Regions from separate parts of the Homo sapiens genome. Here all the other regions are linked to region 1. The links are contacts of gene promoters, found by promoter capture Hi-C in human tissues and cell types (Jung and others, 2019). All regions are on one chromosome and are shown on one strand. The core of a region is centred on a gene start or on the middle of the fragment in contact, and the rest is flanking DNA. Distances in the headings are between cores, read along the strand shown.

What was found. Contacts are between HindIII fragments. The study calls those that stand out against the background at their distance.
Region 2: a contact is called between a fragment that was not itself captured here and the fragment with the promoter of COMTD1 in region 1, in 1 of the 25 tissues and cell types used here (dorsolateral prefrontal cortex).
Region 3: a contact is called between a fragment that was not itself captured here and the fragment with the promoter of COMTD1 in region 1, in 1 of the 25 tissues and cell types used here (pancreas).
Region 4: a contact is called between a fragment that was not itself captured here and the fragment with the promoter of COMTD1 in region 1, in 2 of the 25 tissues and cell types used here (dorsolateral prefrontal cortex and spleen).
Region 5: a fragment that was not itself captured here is called in contact with the fragment with the promoter of COMTD1 in region 1 in 1 of the 25 tissues and cell types used here (spleen).
Region 6: a contact is called between a fragment that was not itself captured here and the fragment with the promoter of COMTD1 in region 1, in 1 of the 25 tissues and cell types used here (mesendoderm cells).
Region 7: a fragment that was not itself captured here is called in contact with the fragment with the promoter of COMTD1 in region 1 in 1 of the 25 tissues and cell types used here (pancreas).

The regions. Positions count from the first base shown.
Region 1 is chr10:75,234,377-75,237,435 of GRCh38, forward strand. It overlaps COMTD1 (catechol-O-methyltransferase domain containing 1), which reads right to left and starts at 1,581. Exons shown (of 7, transcript NM_144589.4): 1 at 1,459-1,581; 2 at 1,240-1,367; 3 at 891-996; 4 at 684-802; 5 at 562-616; 6 at 234-367. The coding sequence starts at 1,552. RefSeq lists silencers at 310-539, 700-989, 1,120-1,199, 1,360-1,499, 1,535-1,829. The HindIII fragment of the contact is 14,083 bases long and covers 1-3,059 here.
Region 2 is chr10:73,865,681-73,868,524 of GRCh38, forward strand. All of the region lies in intron 2 of CAMK2G (calcium/calmodulin dependent protein kinase II gamma), which reads right to left. Among named protein-coding and RNA genes, the nearest start is that of CAMK2G, 7.5 kb to the right of the region's middle. The HindIII fragment of the contact is 6,019 bases long and covers 1-2,844 here.
Region 3 is chr10:76,469,375-76,472,262 of GRCh38, forward strand. The region is part of intron 6 of LRMDA (leucine rich melanocyte differentiation associated); the gene reads left to right. Among named protein-coding and RNA genes, the nearest start is that of KCNMA1-AS1, 420 kb to the right of the region's middle. The HindIII fragment of the contact is 3,660 bases long and covers 1-2,888 here.
Region 4 is chr10:74,136,864-74,140,011 of GRCh38, forward strand. AP3M1 (adaptor related protein complex 3 subunit mu 1) reads right to left here. Exons shown (of 9, transcript NM_012095.6): 2 at 1,244-1,519. The coding sequence starts at 1,516. Among named protein-coding and RNA genes, the nearest start is that of AP3M1, 12 kb to the right of the region's middle. The HindIII fragment of the contact is 3,086 bases long and covers 1-2,982 here.
Region 5 is chr10:74,017,108-74,019,857 of GRCh38, forward strand. The region is part of intron 1 of VCL (vinculin); the gene reads left to right. Among named protein-coding and RNA genes, the nearest start is that of VCL, 20 kb to the left of the region's middle. The HindIII fragment of the contact is 3,564 bases long and covers 1-2,750 here.
Region 6 is chr10:76,369,082-76,372,147 of GRCh38, forward strand. All of the region lies in intron 6 of LRMDA (leucine rich melanocyte differentiation associated), which reads left to right. Among named protein-coding and RNA genes, the nearest start is that of KCNMA1-AS1, 520 kb to the right of the region's middle. The HindIII fragment of the contact is 6,210 bases long and covers 1-3,066 here.
Region 7 is chr10:74,157,781-74,160,736 of GRCh38, forward strand. All of the region lies in intron 1 of ADK (adenosine kinase), which reads left to right. Among named protein-coding and RNA genes, the nearest start is that of ADK, 8.0 kb to the left of the region's middle. The HindIII fragment of the contact is 5,336 bases long and covers 1-2,956 here.

The DNA of each region.
Region 1 (3,059 bases), core at 331-2,830:
GGTGTCTGGGCGGGAGGCGGGGCCTCGGAGGGAGGTGCCCGGGCAGGAGGTGACCAGAGCTGGAGACAGAACCAAAGCGGAGGAAAGCCTGGGTACCGGGGCCGGAGCCCCGGAGGGGGTGTAGCCTACGTGACTGGACTGGGTGGGGCTTTGGGGTATAAGAGGAGTCAAGGGAAAAGATGGGGACCCGGCCCGACAGGGTGCTTTCTCCTCCCCCGCAGTGGATCCCTTACTCTGAGGACGGCGAGGATGCCTCCGGGTCGCAGCAGCTGCAGGCAGCGCTCGTAGTAGGCGGAGCAGTTCTCCTTGTCCGCATCCACCACGGCCACGTCGAAGGTGCCGGCCTCGCCCGCCGCCAGCAGCTCGTCTTGCGGGGGGAGGGAGGGCAGGTGCGGCTGAGTCCGCGGCCCCGGCGGCCCTGAGGCCCCTCCCAGGCCGGCCCGGGCTCTGTGACAACCGGCCCTGCCCTTAACCTGCCCGGCAGGCCCAGTCACAGCTCGGCCACACAGCAGCCTCGTTTGCAATGAATGGCTTCAAAGCCCTTCCCGCTTCGGTGCTCACCCAGGGTCTCCAAGGCGGGCTTCAGCCGGAGGTCGATCTTGTGCTCCGCCTCGGCCTGCGGAGGGAGCGGGTCAGCCGTTGCGCCCCCGCCTGGGGCTGCAGAGCTAGGCGCGGGCGCTCACCTGCCTCCACAGGGGCCGTCCCAGCTCCGGGGGCTGCGCGTCCACCTCGCAGGTCACCACGCGCCCGTCCGCGGGCAGCGCCAGGGCCAGGGCCAGGGCGGAGTAGCCCGTGAAGGTGCCTGGGACCAGGACACAGACGGGCTCAGCCCAGAGTGGGGGTCGGCCCGGAAACCTCGGCCCTCCGGGATCCCGGCCGCGTGCCCCTACCCAGGTCCAGCGCCTTCTTGGCCTGGATGAGCCGCGCCAGGTTGGCCAAGAGCTGGGCCTGCTCGCAGGTCATCATAGAATCCCCCTGCGGCTGCTCCAGGGTCAGCTGCGTGAAAGGAGAGGGTGGCACCAGCCATGCAGGTCACCCACCTTCGCCCTGGGGGTCCCAAGCCCCAGGGGCGCGGTTCTGGGCGTGGCCTGGGGGACTGGCCCTTCGGAACGCCCACCGCACCCGGCCCAGGGAAGCCGGAAGCCCAGGGAGGGCCAGGGCCCAGCCCAAGGTCACACAGCCACGTGGGACCCGCAGGGGTCGAGAGGGACGCCCGTTTCCGTCCCGCGCCCTGCTGACCAGCCTCAGGCTTCGCAGCGCCGGGTGCTCCCGCATGGAGCGGCTCAGAAGATACTGCCACAGGCGGCTGTCCTCGGGGGGAAGCAGGCACTGCTCTCGCCGGCCTCGCCATGGGGGGCACCGCCTCCCTGACGGGGAGAGGGTGTTGGATTAACCTGAGCCACGCCGCGCCCTACTCTGCGCCCGCCCACCCGCCCGCCGGGACCAGGTCCTGCTCACCCAGGAAGAGGCCAGTGGCGAAGGCGGCGCCCAGTGCGGCTGAGCCCAGGGCCAGCGCGGCGGGCACGGAGAGCCGGGGCACCGGCTGGGTCATGGCGCGGGCAGGAGGCGGCGGGAGGCAGTGACAGGTCACGTGAGCTGGAGCTCCTGGGACAGGTCTCGGACTCGCGGGCCCGCCGGGCTCCACCTTGTCGGGGCACTACCCGCGGAGCCGCGGTCTCGGGCATCATCTGGCGGCCACACAGCCTTACTGCAAGCCCCGCCCGAGAGAGCCGGGCGCGATCTGGTGGCCGCGCCGGGAACTGCGCCCCTGCGGGGAGCAGGCCAAGCGCCTAGATCTGAATTTTCCCGCCTGTGCCCGCAGTCCAGGTGCCTGCCTCCATTCCCCTCCTGCCAATGCTTTTTTCTCCTCGCCACCATTTATTCTGAGGCCCCTTGGGGGCATATGTGAATTGTGTATGGAGGGCGCCAGTGTAAGTTACAAGATAGTCACAAGTACAAGAGATAGAGATTAAAGGGGGAAGGCCTCCTGGACAAGATGCCCCAAAGCATCAGGCTGAAGGAGTGAGGGAACTGGTTTGAGGGCATGCAGCCTCGAATTGGGGTTCAGGAGCCCTGGGGTGGGCCTGTGGAACTGAGACCATATTCTTAGCTGTTAAAATCCTGCTTTTGGGGGCCAGATGGATACGAGTGTCTAATCTTGGTCCTGCCAGTCTCTCTGAGCCTCAGTTTCCTTCCTGTAAAATGAGGCCTACAATCTTACCATAAAAGGCACCAGATCCCACAGCTTCGCACACAGTAGCACAATACATAAGTGGCAGCTGCTGTTATGTTGGTAGGTTGGAATGAAGACATCTTGGGGAGAAAGCCGGTGAAGCTCCCTTGCAAGGTTGTTCTGTTGAAACACTGTCCAGAGAACACTGATTGAACCCCTACCATGCGCCAAACTCCGGAGGAGGTGAAAGACGCTGACGCTGTCCTTTTTTTTTTTTTTTTTGAGACTGAGTCTCGCTCTGTCACCCAGGCTGGAGTGCAGTGGCACAATCTGGTCTCACTGCAACCTCCACCTCCTGATTCAAGCGATTCTCCTGCCTCAGACTCTGGAGTAGCTGGGACTACAGGCACGCACCCCTACACCCAACTAATTTTTGTATTTTTTGTAGAGACGGGTTTTGCTATTTTGGCCAGGCTGGTGTCAGACTCCTGGCCTCAAGTGATCTGTTTGCCTCGTCCTTCCAAAGTGCTGGGATTACAGGCCTGAGCCATTGTGCCTGGCGTTGGTGTTCTTTTTTTTTTTTTTGGCAAGGTCTCTGGCAAGGCTGAAGTGCAGTGGCAAGATTACTGCTTATTGCAGCATCGAGCTCCCAGGCTCAGCAATCCTCTTGCCTCAGCCTCCCAAGTAGCTGGGACCACAGGCGGTCACCACTGTGCCCAGCTAATTTAAAAAAAAAAATTTTTTTTTTAAAGAGAAGGGGTCTTACTATGTTGTCCAGGCTGGTCTCGAACTCCTGGCTTTAAGTGATCCTCCTGCCTCAGCCTCCCAAAGTGCTGGGATTACAGGTGTGAGCCCCCGTGCCTGGCCTCTGGTTGGTATTCTTAGT
Region 2 (2,844 bases), core at 44-2,543, 1.4 Mb before region 1:
AAAAGGGCGAGGCCACTGAATGGGCTTGGTCCACAGTGGGAGGGCCCTGGCTCGGCATCTCAAGGTGCTGCAAAGGTGTCTCCCCTTGAGACACCCCTCCTTCCAGTAACCACTAGGGAGAGGCTCAGACCTTCCAAGGTGGACCCTCCTCCACGCACCTTTCTACCAGGCTCATCCCCGCCCCTCCCACAGCCCAGCCCCCCCCTTCCTGTTTGACAACTGCCACTTCCCGCTTTTGCACAGGGCCACTTCCTGCCTGCCTGTGTGCTACTGCCATGGAGAGACCCACCCCTGCCGGCCTTCAGCCCAGCTCCAACCACAGCCCTCTGCAGGTTTTCCCCATCATTAGCAGAGGTGGCAACAGGAGCAGAAAGCAGAAGCAGCTCCAGCCTTTCCCCAGCAGCCTGCCTAGACCAGAGTGGTCTGAGCCCAGGCCAGAGCCAGGCCCTGGGAAACAAGGATCCTAGAAACCCAACCTCTCCCGCCTTCTGCCCAAGTGCTTCAGGACTTGGTCCAAGGTGCCACGATTTCACAGGAAGGGCAGCAAGAAGTGACCAGATGCACCAGGGGAGGCAGAAAAGAGGAAGCAGATAGGGAGGTGATAGCTTGCAGCCAAGGGGTGCACCAAGCCTGCCCCTGAACCACCTCCCCCTCTGGCCTGAAGACAGAAGCCTACTCCAATGCCCTTTCCTTCCTCTGCCAGGTCAGGGGGCCAGGGAGGGCTGGCCACAGATTCTCCATGGCCCTCTCAGGGATGGGCCTGCTTGACTTAGTGACATTTTCCTAAAAAAAAAACACAAATGCCAGCACTAGCTTCAAATAAGATCCTGCTGCCACGTAAACATACAATCCTCTGTACGTGGGAAAGGATGCACATTCCTACTCTGACTGAGGACTCTCCCAAGTTCCAATCTCAAAGACATTCTTAACTTTGTAAAGGGTATTTTGCAGGTCTGTGCCTATGACCCTAAACATGGATGTGAGAAACTTCCTGCAACCCCACTGATTTCAGGGCTCCATGGGAGGCGGCCTCACTTGCTGCCCTCCTGAGTGCCTTTCATCTTCTTCCCAAGCAGCAGAGGCCGCCGTCTGGTCCCCTTGGCACTCTGAGGAGCAGAAACAAGGACATCGCAGGGATTTGATGTCATAATCCACCTTCCCCAGCTGCTTATGCACAGCCCTGGGCCTGGGACACTGACCAGTGGGAATCCCAAGCCACGATCCCACCGACCTCACCCTGACACTGTGATGCCACATCCCTTCCTCTTTGAATCTCACTCTAAAGATGCAAAGAGTCTCCAATTAAAAGCAAAGTCCATCCGACACACAAGAGCAGGACCATGGTTTCTAATGCCCTCACACATGTACACCTGGTGACTAGCTGGGGGCTGTGATACAGAGGGACGGGGCCTGAAATGGTCCCATGTGAACCCCCAAGGCTCTGTGCATGTACCCAGCATCCTCCCCTTATCTTCAACCCTCACTCAAGCAGTTTTAACTTGGTGACACAAAGACCTGAGCCCCACTTTGGCCTCTGGATCTCAAGGCAAGGGAAGCGAGAGGCTCCAAGAAATGCCCTATAGCGAAAAGGCCCTCAATCAGCTTTGACAGAGAAAATCCCCAAGGGGTCACTAGCAAGCCCCAAGAAGGCAAGGCTCTGCCTGGGGGCACTCTGGCTGCTCTCAAGGGCCAGAAAAGGGTCAGCCGTCTGTTCTCCATGCCCCCCGGCAGGGCTCCCGGTGCCTGCAGCCTTTGCCCACTGTTTTGGTGACATTTCCTTCATGGTAACCAGCCCCAAGTAAAACATCCCAGGAAGCAGCCCCTAAAAATAGCTCCTCCCAGGGCAGCAGCAAGCAGGGGGGAAGGGAAAGAAAGGGAGGAGAAAAGAGGGGAGCAGATGGGAAGCTGCGGCTGCTGCTGATAGGGCCCAGGAAGCGGAGATGGTGTTGGGGAGGAGTGGCTGGAAATCTCCCCACCGCACAGCCCAGAGAGGTGGGTACAGACGGGAATGGGGCCTCAGCCAGCAACGAGGAGGGATTTGCTCCACCAGGCTTGGAGCTTGGGGCCTAGATGGAGAGGTGTGAGGTGATATGCCAAGATTCATCACAGGAACAAAGTATCCAGAACCTGTGTTTTAAAGAAAGGCGCCAAGGAGTGGGTGGAGGCCACACGGCCTGAGGACGCTGGGTCTGAGCCCTGGCAAAGTCATGGGCACCTGCAGCACAAAACCAAAAAAGAAAAAAAAGACCCCAGACAAAGCTTTTGTGCTTTGATTTCCCCAGCGGTCCTGCGGCAGATCTGTCTGGCCATGGGTAGGTGACAAAGGGGCTCTGCAGAGAGGCATTCAAGAGGTGCAAAGTGCCCATCTCCTCCTGTCACCACCCTTTTGGCACCCATGGGATCAGGCCCTTGTTGGTCTGCCAAAGCTGTTCAGAGAGCAGCAAGCATACAGATGGGAGCAGGAATGGTCACACCCAGCCTCCCCTTCCCTATCTCCAGTCTCAGCAGAGAATGGGGTCAGCCACTCACCTCTAGGGTTTCAGCACAGCTTCGAACAAGGGTATGGTGACAAGGGACCAGAGGAAGCAGCAGGAAGAAGGCAGGGGCCTCCCTGACAGGACAGGGCAACCTTCCCACCTCCATCCCCACACCATGATGCAGCACCCCAAGTCACTCTAGGAAGACAGGTGGGAGGGGAGGGGGACAGGCCAGTGTTGTGTGTGCTAAGGCCCACAGCTCAACGTGACCGCGTGACAAAAGCCGCCTGGCAGAAGCCTTTGCACAGAGGGACCTGCAGTCGGCTTCCATCCCTTCAGGAGAGAAAGTAGAGGCGCTCCATCACTG
Region 3 (2,888 bases), core at 206-2,705, 1.2 Mb after region 1:
AACTCAAATGTGGCAGTTCTACCACAGGTGAAGCTAACTGAGAACACTTGGGCCCTCATCATTCTTGCTCAAGAATGATGGGGTGGAGGGTCCACACTGGGAGAGGCAAGCTGAGAAGACTGGAGAGTGTCATATCTGCCTCAGTCTCTGGAGCAGTGGCTTGGAGGTTTTTCTCAGTGGGAGAGCAGTCCATAAATACATAGAGCTCTGAAGCTCTGAAGCTCTCCTTAGGGGAACTGTCTTTGAAACAGAGTGAGGGAAGTTCAAGGCTAAGGGTACTTTCTTCCATAATGAAGATTTTGGTGGTAATTAAGAGGAGACTAATAACTCCATGAGAGCAAAAACTTACACCAGAGGCAAGCAAGTTTACTAGAGAGAACCATGGAAACAGATAGCTAAGAACTCTCCTGGGTTCACAAAAAACCTAAAGGACTAGCCTCAAAAACTTCCCCTACCCATGTACAATTCAGTGGCATCTATAACATTCACAGTATTGTGCAATCATCACCACTATCTCTTTCCAAAACACTGTCATCATCCCAAGAAGAAACTCTAGAATGATTAAACCAACAACTTCCCATCCCTTCTCCCCTATGATCATGGATTAACAATTAGCTTTCATTAGAAACAATGGAGACCAGAAACCAATAGGATGGCATAATCAAAGTGCTGGAAAAAAAATAAAAAAACTATCAAGCAACAATCTTATATCCAGCAAAACTCTCTTTCAAATATGAAGGTGAAATAAAGACATTTCTAAGTAAACAAAAACTGAGAAGCTTTATTTGCTAGCAGACTTCCTTTACAAGAAATACTAAGGGAAGTAATACAGGCTGAAAGCAGTACACCCCAGACATTAATTCAAAACCACACGAATAAACAAAAAGCACCAGTAAAGGTAATTATATAATAATAAAAAGATAGTATAAATACATATTCTCCTTTCTGCCCTTAACTAATTTAAAAAGCAATTGTACGTAAGCATGGAATTACCATATAATCTAGCATTTTTTACTTCTAGGTATACACCCCAAAGAACTGAAAACAAGAACTCAAACAGATACTTGTACACCTATGTTCATAGCAGCCTTATTCACATGGACAAAAGGTAGAAACAACCCAAATGTCCATCAAGGGATTAATGGATAAAAAATGTTGGATATACGTACAATGTAATAGTATTCAGCCATAAAAAGGAATGATGTACTGATATATAATACAATATAGTTGGGAAAAGATTATTCTAAGTGAAATAAGCTAGACTCAAAAGGATAAATATTATAGGAATCCACTTAATTGAGGTATCTAAAATAGGCAAATACATAGAGACAGAAAGCAGAATAGAATAGAGGTTAACAAGGACTGGTAGCAGAAGGGAAGAGTGAGGACTTGCCAGGGAGAGAAGAGTAGGCAGTTATAGTTTAATAGGTACAGAATTGCTTTTGGGAAAATAAAAATATTCTGGAAATGTATACTGGTAATGGTTACACAAAATTTTAAATGTACCTAACACCACTGAATTATGCACAATAATGACAAAAATGGTAAATTTTGTTATGCACGTTAACCACAATAAAAATAATTAACTCTAAAAAAGCAATTATATAAAATAATATGTATGTAATTATATTATTGGGCTTATATGTAAATGTAATATATTTGACAGTAACAGCACAATGGAGATGGGTGGGAGGAAACCTGTATTGGTGTAAGGAAATGGCGCCAGATGGTAACCCAAATCTATAGGAACAAATGAAAAGAATCAGAAATGATAAATAGAAAGGGAAATATAACAAGCTCTATGAATATATGCTTACTCTCTTCTATTCTCTTAGCTTCTTTAATAGACATAAAATTATATAAATAATAAAATGTATTGGTAGGTTTGTAATATATTTAAATATAATGTGTATAACAATATTAGCACAAAAGGAGGAAGATGGAACAGAGCTATATAGGTGCAATTTTAAAATTTTTTGTGAAATTAAGTTAGCATATATCTGAAAGAGATTCTGATGAGTTAACCACTAATAAAATCTAATAAAATAACTCAAAATATAGCGAAAAATTATTAAAGAAATTATATTACACTAGAAATATTCACTTAAAGCAAAAGGAAGCAGTAAAGAAGGAACAGGGAAGCAAACACACATGGGGCATATAGGAAACAACTGAAATGGAATATGTAAATCCTATATAAATAATAATATCAAATATAAATGGATTAAGCAACTGAATCAATAGTCAGAGATTTTCAGAATGGATAAAAAAACAAAATCCAACTATAGGTTGTTTATAAAACACACACTTTAGATTCAAAGATACAGATAGTTTGAAAGTAAAAGAATTGAAAAGATGTATCATGCAAACAACAACAATAAGAAAATTGGAGTGGCTATACGAATAGCAGAAAAAAATAGACTTTAAGACAGAAAAAGTTACTAGAGTAAAAGAGGACATTTTGTGATGATAAAAGTGTCAATTTGTCAGGTATGTAAAACAATCATAAACATATAGACATGGCTACATAGCCACAGAGCCCCAAAATACACGAAGGAAAAACTGACAGACCAGAAGGGAAAAATAAGCTTTCAACAATAATAGTTGTAGTGTTCAATACCCCACTCTTAATAACAGATAGAACAACTAGACAAAATATCAAGGAAATAGAAGACTTGGACAACACTATAAACCAACTTGACCTACCAGACATCTGTAGACCTTCCACCCAGCAACATCAGAATGCACACTCTTCTCAAGAACATGGAATAGTCTCTAGGATAGACCATATATTAGGCCATAAAACAAGCCTCAATAAATTTAACTGGGTAAATCATGCAGAGTGTGTTCTCTGATAACAATAGAGTGAAAATAAAAATTAATAAATT
Region 4 (3,148 bases), core at 190-2,689, 1.1 Mb before region 1:
CTTTTTGTTCTGAAGAATAAACTTAGAGTAGCATAATTCATTGCTTAAGCTGCTGAACATATATAAAACAGAGCGGGGGAAAAAACCCTCTATAGTCCGGGCATGGTGGCCCATGCCTGTAATCCCAGCAATTTGGGAGGCTGAGGCGGATGCATCACTTGAGGTCAGGAATTCAAGACCAGCCTGGCCAACATGGTGAAACCCTGTCTCTACTAAAAATACAAAAATTAGCTGAGTGTGATGGTGCACACCTGTGGTCCCAGCTACTTGGGAGGCTGAGGCGGGAGGATTGCTTGAACCCGGGAGGCGGAGGTTGCGGTGAGCCAAGATCATGCTACTGCACTCCAGCCTAGGGAACAGAGTGAGACTCCGTCTCAAACAAAACAAAACAAAACAAAACAAAACAAGCAAACAAAAAAAACCCCTCTATAGTCCTAATATTATTCCTCAATATTTTCTTGATATTTCTAGGTTGAATTTAATTCCTATTACATATTATACCAGAAAGTATTGAAACATTAAATTGGAATTTGAGCTATAAACTTCATTCACCCTGATTATCCCAAAATACATATAGATAAGCTTAAATTATTTGGTATATTCCGCAAGACAAAATAATAAAATGTAAATATAGAAGAGTTCATAACCAATGAAAATCTTGAGACCATTGAGAGAACTGTATGCGGAGGGCATTATTGTTTCCTGATGATATACAGTCATCCCTTGGTATTTGTGGGAATTAGTTCCAGGATCCCCTGTAGATACCAAAGTTCACAATTCTCAAGTCGCTGACATAAAATGGCATAGTATTTGCACATAACTTATACACATCCTCCTATATACTTTAAATCACCTCTAGATTACTTGTAATATCTAACACAGTGTAAATGCTATGTAACTATTTGTTATACTGTATTGTTCAAGTAATAATGAGAAGAAGTTTGTACATGTTCAGTTCGATTTTTTTGTTCAAATATTTGCCATGTAAGGTTGGGTGACTTTATGGATGCAGAACCCATGTATATGGAGAGCCAACTGTAATCTGTAATACATATAAAAAATAGTGAATAGAGCAGCCATGTGTGTAACTGTATACCACACAGAAAAGGGCTTATGAATTTACGCTTAAACAGAGAGAGACAGACAGTAAACATCAAAACCTGGGTAATTAAATAATATAATCATGTCTCACCTTCAGCTAACTTGGGTCATTTAACTTAGAAAGGTATGATAGATAACCAACCTGAAAAGTGTCAGCAACTCGATGTAGGAACTCAATTACAAAGAGAGGTGGCACTTCGGTCTGTATGACAGATACAAAGAAGAGCTTATCCCGGTAGATACTGATGAGGTAGTGGTGAGGTGTTGAAATGACAGGTGGTACATTTTCAACATCAGCAGCTTTCTCTTGAGCTTCAAAGAAATAATCACAGACAGACTGGCTCACAACGCTCTTCCAGTGCTTCTCTAGAAATATGTCACCGGAACAGTTTATGAGAAATAGACTGTGGATCATTTTCTGTTGGGGCAAAGAAAGGTTTAAATTTATTATACATTAAATATCATTTAACATACACAAAAAGATTATACACCTTGACCAAGTGGGATTTATTCTAAGAATGCAAGGCTGGTTCAACATACAAAAATCAATCAACATGATATACAATAAGAACTAAAACAATCATTTCAAAAGGTGCAGAAATTGCATTTGACAAAATCCAACATCCTTTTACGAAAAAAAAAAAAAAAAAAGAAAGCCATTTAAGAACAAAAAGAAACTTCCTCAGCCAGGCTCAGTGGCACATGCCTGTAATCTCAGCACTTTGGGAGGCTGAGGTGGGCGGATTGCTTGAGCTCAGGAGTTTGAGACCAGCCTGGGCAACAGGGCAAAACATCATCTTTACAAAAAATACAAAAATTAGCCAAGCATGGTGGCACTTGCCTGTAGTCCTAGGTACTCAGGAGGATGAAGCAGGAGAATTGCTTGAGCCCAGGAGGAAGATCGACGCTGTAGAGAGCTAAGATTGCGCCACTGCACTCCAGCCTGGGTGACCAAGTGAGACACTATCTAAAAAAAAAAAAAAAAAAAAAAAAAATTTCCTTAACCTGATGAAAACCCCACAGCTAATATTATATTTAAAGGTGAAAGACCGAACACTTTCTCCTTAATAACAAAACCTAACAAGGATGCCCAGTCCCATCATTTCTATTCAACATGGTACTAGAGGTTTGAACCAGGGCAATTAAGCAAGAAAATAAAACAAAAGGCTTCCAAATTGGAAAGGAAGAAGTAAAACTGTATCTGTAGAAGATACAATCTTATATATAGAAAATCCTAAGGAATCCACACACACACAAAAAAAAACCTATTAGAGCTAATAAATTTAGTTCAGCAAGCTTGCAGGACACAAGTCAATATAAAAATCAATTATATTTCTATCCACTATAGCTATAAAATACTAAAAATGGGCTAGGCATTGTAACTCATGCCTATAAACCCAGCACTGTGGGAGGCTGAGGAAGGAGGATTGCTTGAGCTCAGGAGTTTAAGACCAGCCTATGCAACATAGTGAGACCTCATCTCTATTAAAAAAAAAAAAACAAAACAAAACTGAAAATGAAATAAAACAATTTCAGGCCGGGCGTGGTGGCTCATGCCTATAATCCCAGCACTTGGGGAGGCCGAGGCAGGTGGATCACCTGAGGTCGGGAGTTCAAGACCAGCCTGGCCAACGTGCAGAAACTCTGTCTCTACTAAAAAAAAAAAAAAAAGGCCAGGCGCGGTGGCTCACGCCTGTAATCCCAACACTTTGGGAGGCCGAGGTGGGTGGATCACGAGGTCAGGAGATCGAGACCATCCTGGCTAAGACGGTGAAACCCCGTCCCTACTAAAATTAGCCAGGCGTGGTGGCACGCACCTGTAGTCCCAGCTACTCAGGAGGCTGAGGCAGAAGAATCGCTTGAACCCGGGAGGCGGAGGTTGCAGTGAGCCGAGACTCAAGATTGCACCACTGTACTCCAGCCTGGGTGACAGATTGAGACTCCATCTCAAAAAAAAAAAAAAAAAAATCCCAGCTGCCTTTTCGTGGAATTTGACAGGCTAATCCTAAATTCATAAGGAATTGAAAAAGATCAACAGCCAAAACAA
Region 5 (2,750 bases), core at 7-2,506, 1.2 Mb before region 1:
CGGGATCTCGGCTCACTGCAAGCTCCGCCTCCCGGGTTCACGCCATTCTCCTGCCTCAGCCTCCCAAGTAGCTGGGACTACAGGCGCCCGCCACTACGCCCGGCTAATTTTTTGTATTTTTAGTAGAGACGGGGTTTCACCGTTTTAGCCGGGATGGTCTCGATCTCCTGACCTCGTGATCCGCCCGCCTCGGCCTCCCAAAGTGCTGGGATTACAGGCGTGAGCCACCGCGCCCGGCCTCCTTCCTTTTTAAGGCTGAATTATATTCCATTGTATGTGCATACCACATTTGTTTACCCATTCATCCATTGATGGACATTTGGATTGCTTCCACCTTTTGGCTATTGTGAATAATGCTGCTATTTCATCATATGTTTAATATCTTAAGAGGCCTGAACTCTGTCTCTGAAGGGTGTAAGCTGCTGCTGCTGCTTTTTCTTTCTTTCTTTCTTTTTTTTTTTTTGAGACAGGGTCTGGTTTTGTTGCCCAGGCTGGAGTGCAGTGGTATGATCTCAGCTCACTACAACCTCAACCTCCCAGGCTCAAGCCATCCTCCCACCTCAGCCTCCCAAGTAGCTGGGACTACTACAGGTGCATGCCACCATGTCTGGCTAATTTTTGTGTGTATGTGTATATATTATACACATACAATTTTATTATACTTAAAATTGTCATTTCTTGTTGTTCTTGTTGTTTTTCTTGGAGTATAGAAACTATAAGAGCTTAATACCAGAGCGAGAATAGCAAGGCACCTTTAAAATCTGGTGAAGGCTGGGTAAGGTGGCTCATGCCTGTAATCCCAGCACTTTGGGAGGCTGAGGCAGGCAGATTGCTTGAGCGTAGAAGTCCGAGACCAGCCTGGGCAACATGACGAAACTCCTTCTCTACAAAAAGTATAAAAATTAACTAGGCGTGGTGGTGTATGCCTGTAGTCCCAGCTACTTGGGAGGCTGAGGTGGGAGGATTGCTTGAGCTGGAGATCGTGCCACTGCCCTCTAGCCTGGGCAACAGAGCGAGACTCTGTCTCAAAAAGAAAAAAAAATCTGGTAAAATGTGAGGATATATATAGGATATATATATATATATATATATATAAATACATATATATATGTGTATTATTTTATTTTATTTTATAGAATGGGGTTTTACCATGTTGCTCAGGCTGGTCTTGAACTCCTGGGCTCATGTGATCTACCTGCCTTGGCCTCCCAAAGTGCTAGGATTACAGGTGTAAGCCACCGTGCCCAGCTGGAATGTAAGCTTCTGACGGACTTGGGCTAGGACTGTGAACTTAGCCTCTGATGCCAAGGAGCAAACATGGAATGAAAGCAGGCCAAAGGCCCTTTTGCATAATATGGCAGTAAGGCAGGAAGGGAAGTTCATTCCACTTTAGAGAGGCAGTGTTTGAAGCATGAGGAAGTTTGCCAGCCAGAGAAAATGGGAATACCTTCTGTGCAGAGTGAATACAAAGATACAAGGGTGTGAATGTGCAGTTAGGGAATGGGGAAGCTTTAGTAATGAGACTGTTAAGGTGGATTGTGTCCCTTGTGAAGGGACTCAGACGACATAAATCAGTTAAAAAAAACAAAACTAACTTCAGTTTTTGAATAGGTATAGGATTCACCTGGTTCAAAATTTAAAAGGTAAAGGTATACAGTGAAAAGTCTCCCTTTCCCCCTTGAACTCCAGCCACCCAGTTTCCCTCCTCATAGGAAACCGATGCACTTAAGAAACCCAATGTCTTGGATATGCTTCTAGAGATAGTTTGTGCACAATCTGGCAGTAACTAGTCCCCTTTCATACAAATGAAGACCTGTTATACTGTCTTGTCCTGTTTCTTGATTTTTTTTTCATCCTTTGCATGTTTTGGGGAACATTTCTTGCTTGTATCTACAGAACTTTCTCTTCTTTTGACAGTTAAATAATAGTCCCTTGATGGTTGTAGATAATTTATTAAACTAGACCCTTATGGAAGGTTATTTGTGATCTGTTGCTGTTTCAGACAACATGGCAAAGAATGACACAAATATGTCAGTTTACGTATGTGCAAGTACATTTACAGGATAATTTCTAGAAGAGGAACATACTAAGCATTGGATGTTAGAAAACAGAGAAATCTTGTATTATTATTATTTTTACTTTATTTTACTTTAAGTTCTGGGATACACATGCAGAACATGCAGGTTTGTTACATAGGTATACATGTGCCATGGTGGTTTGCTACACCTATCAACTCATCATCTAGGTTTTAAGCCCCGCATGCATTAGGTATTTGTCCTAATGCTCTCCCTCCCCTTGTCCCCCATCCCCCTACAGGCCCCAGTGTGTGATGTTCCCCTCCCGAAACAGAGGTGTTTAAGCTGATGTATAAAATTTTGGTAAAATAATCCTGGTAGTATTGAGGAAGATAGATTGGAGCGCTGGTGAGACACTGGGGTTGGAGAGCCATCCATTCAAGCAAGAGGTAGTAAGAGCTGCCTTCAGGCAGTGGTAGGAGTGCAGATAGAGAAAAGACACATCTGCAGCATGTGTAGAGTACAAGAGGGAGAGGGAGGAAAAAGAAAAGATAAATTCTAGAGATAGACTCATTATTACTTAATTTATATTTGGATTCATAGTGTTCTCGATTTTGAAAATGAATCAGTAAAGTAAATGTTTTAAAAATAACTAATTGGCCCGGTGTGATGGCTCACGCCTCTAATCCCTGCACTTTAGGAGGTTGAGATGGTCAGATCACCTGAGGTCAGGAG
Region 6 (3,066 bases), core at 166-2,665, 1.1 Mb after region 1:
ATTTAGGCCATTTACATTCAATGTTAGTATTGAAATGTGAGGTGCTGTTGCTTTTATCATGCTCTTTGTTGCCCATGTACTTGGTTTTTTGTTTTTGCTTTTTAACTTGTATTTTTGTTTTATAGGTCCTGTGTGATTTATGCTTTAAAGAAGTTCTGTTTTGATGTGCTTCCAGGATTTGGTTCAAGATTTTGAGCTCCTTTTATCAGTTCTTGTTGTGGTAGTTTGGTAATGGTGAGTTCTCTCAGCATTTGTTTGAAAACAACTGTATCTTTCCTTCATATATGATGCTTAGTTTCACTAGATACAAAATTCTTGCCTGATAATTGTTTTGTTTGAGGAGCCTGAAGATAGGTCCCCAATCCCTTCTAGCTTGTAGGGTTTCTGCTGAGAAATCTGCTGTTAATCTGATAGGTTTTCCTTTATAGGTTACCTGGTGCTTCTGTCTCATAGCTCTTAAGATTCTTTCCTTCATCTTAAATTTGGATAACCTGATGACAATGTTCTTAGGCAGAGATCTTTTTGTGATTAATTTCCCAGGTGTTCTTTTGCTTCTTGTATTTGGCTGTCTAGGTCTCTTGCAAGGCCGGGAGAGTTTGCTTTGATTATTCCCCTAAATCTGTTTTCCAGGGAAAACCTGGACATTTAAATGCTAGTTTAACATGGAGCAGAGGACTCCATTTTTGTAAAATGCTGCAACCTGGGAATTTCCTTTCATAATTTTGATAGACATATGGCACTTCTGGTTGAGAACTGGGCCTATAGCAGTGGCTTAACTTAAGGGTTCCATAGATCCTTGCCTTGGTTCAACATATCCCATCTACGAGATGACAAATGTTTGATTGAAGAAGTATTGAAGAGTATTTGGAAATGTAGACAAATAACAGTATCTGGAGCTTGCAGCACAGTGGGAAATGGAGCCAAGACTGTACCTATAATTTAGGGTAAGGAGCAATAATGAGGTCCCATAAAAATAAAAAACCATGATGTTAAATAGACTGCAGATCATTTGCACCTTGAGGCTTTTCTTAGATTTTATGCCAGCAAAAAAAGTAGTAATAGGGCTTGTGCTTTATGCCAAAAGAATTCCTCGTACACAAGATTTTATTTGCTTTAGTGTAATCAAAGAGACCCTCCCCCTAAAATTATATAAGGGTAAAAAAAAACAAAACAAACAAACAAAAAACCCATCCAGCTATAAAGAGCTGCCAGCCTGGGTTTGGAGCATGGCTTTAATCCTCTGTGCCTGGGGTCATATTGTTTTTATCTTGCTTTTGACTCTATTTCAAAGCTGATGTTGCTATCTACAAACCTTACCTAACAGCTATAATTATTTCATTTGTATTCACTATGAAGTCCTTTCCAATCATGTTAGAGAAATGGATTCCAGTGTTTGCAAGTGACCCCTTATCCTGTCTTTTAAAGAAAATAGCATATATTGTAGGCTCCCCTTATCTGCATTTTTGCTTTCCACAGTTTCAGTTACCCACGATCAACTGCAGTCCAAAAATAAGATATTTTGTGAGAGAGAGAAAGACTATATTCGTATAACTTTTATTATAGTATATTGTTATCATTGTTCTATTTTATTATTATTATTGTAAATCTCTTACCGTGCCTAATTTATAAATTAAACTTAACATAGGTCTGAATGTATAGGAAAAACATAGTATACATACTATATATAGTAAGTGGAGAGCACACCAAATGTATATCATTTTTGTACTGTAGTAAATTTGAAAAATTGTAGGTCAACCCATTATAAGTTGAGGATGGAAGGTCTGTCTATAGGGTTCAGTATTACATGTGGTTTCAGGCATCCATTAGTGGTCCTGATGTGTCCTCTACAGACAAAGGGGGACTACTGTAAGTTTGTAAAACCACTGAACAAGGAGTTTCAAATGTGATAAAATATTAAAATGGGACTCTTCAAGTTCAGCTGAAGCCACAATTAATAGGAATCAACTGGTCGCACATTCCAAGATGAGATGCTAGATCACCCCAGCAGGACCTGCAAGAGTTCTAAAATTTGGATCGTGTCATTGCCTGAGCTTTCAGACATTAGATAAGTCAAGTCAGATTTGATCCTTAGTTTTTTCCTTTGTCAAGTGGGAACAGTTATTGCTACCCAGTGACCTTGTAGGGATGTGTCAATTGAGATGCTGGACCTGAAGATGCCATGAAAATTCGAGGTAGTGGTTCTCTTTCTCCTTCTTGCAGTGGGGTTTTGGGTCACAAAATGACAGGATTGTCCTCAGATACTTTATAGAAAGCCATTGGTGCTGTTAACACAGTATGAGTTTAGTGTTTCATTTTGGAGTCAAACACACTTTATTTTTTTTTCTCACAACTGCTTCTGTGAATCTACTTGCAGGGCTAGATCTTCTGCCCTGGAATCATATCCTAGCTAGTGCTCAGAGCCTGCCACTCACTCTTTGGTAGTAATAACTCCTCTCATTGGTTACCTGAGTTTCCAAACAGTGTTGGTTATGCTATAAATAAGTATAGTCTAGGGTAATAATCAAAACTCTGAAATTCATCCATGGGTAATGCATCTTCTGGCACCATCAAGAGCTTGCTACAGGGGGAGAAGTGGGCTGAGTAACTTCTTTCTCCTTTATTCTTCCATATGCTAGGTGAGTTGGATAGGGGAAGAGAAGAGAAGTAGGAGCCAGGATCAAATTTGCTTGGCTGGTCCCAACCTGGTATTGATTTGCTTTTCTACTGGCAGATGCTTAAGACTGGCCTTTCTTCTCTGAAAGCTGTTTCATGATTTGGACGCTTATCACTAGGGTCCTCTTTTTTGTGGGTGATTCTCTTTTGATGATAAATGAATCATCTAGGGACTTCTCTCTGCTGAGGTCTCCTTGCCTCTAACAAGGCAAGGTCCAAGACTAGCTCAGGGTGCTTTGTCTTGTACTTGGCACTTACCTCCTCCCTGGAAATATGGATCTTTGACCTAAAAGTGTTGTATAGTTATGTCCCCAAATTGAATCTGTTTTGTTTAGCCACCTAGTGAGCAGCTTTAGCCATAGTCTTTCTTTCACTCATTAACTTTCTTAGACT
Region 7 (2,956 bases), core at 286-2,785, 1.1 Mb before region 1:
ACTCAGGAGGCTGAGGCAGGAGAATCTCTTGAACCCGGGAAGTGGAGGTTGGGGTGAGCCGAGATCGTGCCATTGCACTCCAGCCTGGGCAACAGCGCAACTCCATAAATTGAGAGGCACCAACTTACATCTAACTGGGAGTTCCAAAAAGAGGAAATAATGTGAATGGTGGAGAAGCCAGGTTGGAAGAGCTGATGGCTGAGAATTTACCAAAATTTAAGAAAGACCAGTTCTCAGCTTGAAAGGGCATTATATGTATCTAGTAAGATGGAAACAAAAATATAAACTAAAACTTCAGAGATTTTCTTGCTAATTATATTAATGTATCTATTATAGAAAGACTGAAAATTTAGACACTCCAAATTTAATAGTGGGCATCTTTAGGTGGAAGAATTATGAGGTTTAAAAAAAAACTTGTATTTTCCAATGTTTCTACACTGAACATATTAGGAATCTTGCTTTTAAGTTGGAGAGACTTGAAGTACACTGAATATATAAGTGGCCAAGTGCTGTGTGGCTAAATATTATCTTTACAGAATGGACCTCTGGGATACCAAATACCTCTGAAACTTGGTAACATAATTATTATGACTTTATTGTAGGCTATAATCTTTTAAGCTATATTTCTGAAATCCCAAAGCTCTGGAAGCTGGAAGTTTTTTAAAAAGTTTGAGATGAATTAATTTGGCAGCAAAATTTGAACTGATGTAAAGGTGTCAGTAGTATTTATTTGTCTGACACAAATGTATATGCTTTGCTATGGAAATATTAGGCTGTTAATGACATGCCACATGAATTCCTCCTGGGTGTTCTACAAAATATATAGTGCAGTGTTACCTTCCTAAAATCCATAAAATTCTGAATTCCAAAACATACCCTGCCCCAAGGATTTAAGAAAGGGTTTGTGGACTTTTATTACTTATTTATAGTTTACTTTTAAAAGTTGGCTACTGTGCAGGAACAATAATTTCTCATCAGAGTTAGTTCCTAGATTTTTTTCTCTAGTCACTGTTCTGCACTTCTATGATACTAAGTAGATGCTCATTTCAAAGATACTTTTTGGCTAGCTCTACTGTAATACCAGTACAGTTGATGTCACTGAGTTATTAGGCTTTTCTTCCTCTCCAGTAGTAACTGAAAAGACAGACTTCTCTTCAACTTTTGGACTTGAAGATTTGGAAGGCTGTTTTACAAAATGGTCTCCCAAACTGAAGTTTCACATACTGCTTGAAGAAGATACATTCTGATGATTTATCAAAGCAGATTTAGAGTTTTTGCTCTCATTTATGTGTATTATTTCTGATGTTGTTTGTACTTTTGGCTTCGTACCATTTCTTTAAAAATTTGGTTCATACACTTCAGATCTAGAAGCAATGTGATTAGCCTTTGATATAAGAACATCTGAGTTTCTATTTGCATTTTTACTTTCATTGCATGCATGCTGACTTTAGTATTTTCTTTACAATTTAGAAGATATATATGTATAGCAATTATGTAAGAAATTCTTGCCTTCTGTAGGCACAACAGTTTGGTTACTGTATTAACATGGTCTTAACCATTTTGTCAGCAAGCCACATTTGGTTAGTAGTGAGTCCTGCTATTTTACTATGTTACCTGCAAACAGGATTGCAGATGTGAAGGTAGCCTGTGTGATCATTGGTCACTCACTGAATTAGGGATTATCAGAAATTATATTGAAGTGGTCACTTGGCTACTTGCCTTCTACATGCTTAGGCTAGACTTTGGTTCATACTTAGAACCATTTTGAAATCTCTGAAAGACTCAGTTGACTCAACCTAACTGGAAAGTCCATCTAATTTTTTTTTTTTTGAGATGGAGTCTTGATCTGTCACCCAGGCTGGAGTGCGGTGGCACGATCTCAGCTCACTGCAACCTCCGCCTCCTGGGTTCAAGCAACTCTCCTGCCTCAGCCTCCCGAGCAGCTGGGATTACAGGCATGCACCACCATGCCCAGCTACTTTTTGTATTTTTAGTAGAGACAGGGTTTCACAATGTTGGCCAGGCTGGTCTCAAATGCCTGACCTCAGGTGATCCACCTGCCTTGGCCTCCCAACGTGCTGGGATTACAGGTGTGAGCCACAGCACCTGGCCTAAAGTCCATCTAAATATGACTCAATCTAGGAGTTCACCGCTTGTCTCTGTTGTCCTTTAGATTCAATTTATCTCTCACGTAGGCCATTTCAGTGTAACAAGATGGCAGTTCTCAACTCCAAGCCAAAATCTCATGAGTCCAAAGGAAGAGAGTTTTTCTATATGCTTGTATCAGTTTTGAGAGAAATTTGGTTCTGCCTGTGTTACACACTACCTTGAACCAGTTGAGGTAGGAGGTGGGGCTCAGACACTGGACCAAATTGAGGACTAGCTAAAACAGGGACAGAGTGGAATCAGCTTTCCGTAAGTCACACCTACTAATGTGCCATGTCAGTTTCCCATTGCCACGGCAACACCCAGAAGTTAGCGTCCCTTTTCATGACAGTGTCCTGGAAGTTACCACCCTTTTCCTAGAAATTTCTGCATAATCTGCCTCTTAATTTGTATATAATTAAAATTGGGTATAAATATGACCACAGAACTGCTTCTGAGCTGCTACTCTGGGCATACTGCCTATGGGGTAGCCCTGCTCTGCAAGGGGCAGTACCTCTGCCGATGCTTTACACTGCTGCTTCAATAAAAGTTGCTGACACACCACTGGCTGACCCTTGAATTTTTTCCTGGATGAAGCCAAGCACCGTCCTGGGCTAAGCCCCAGTTCTGGGGCTTACCTGCCCTGCATTACAATCACTGTATCAGAGGTGGAGATTTGGGCTGGCCTTGGATACATTCTCACTGTCTGCCCGTCTGTTGTGTGCGTGCATGCAGGTAGGGGTGTGTGCGTGCATGCAGGTAGGGGTGTGTGTGTGTGTGTGTGTGTGTGTGTATGTGTGTGTGTAGGTAG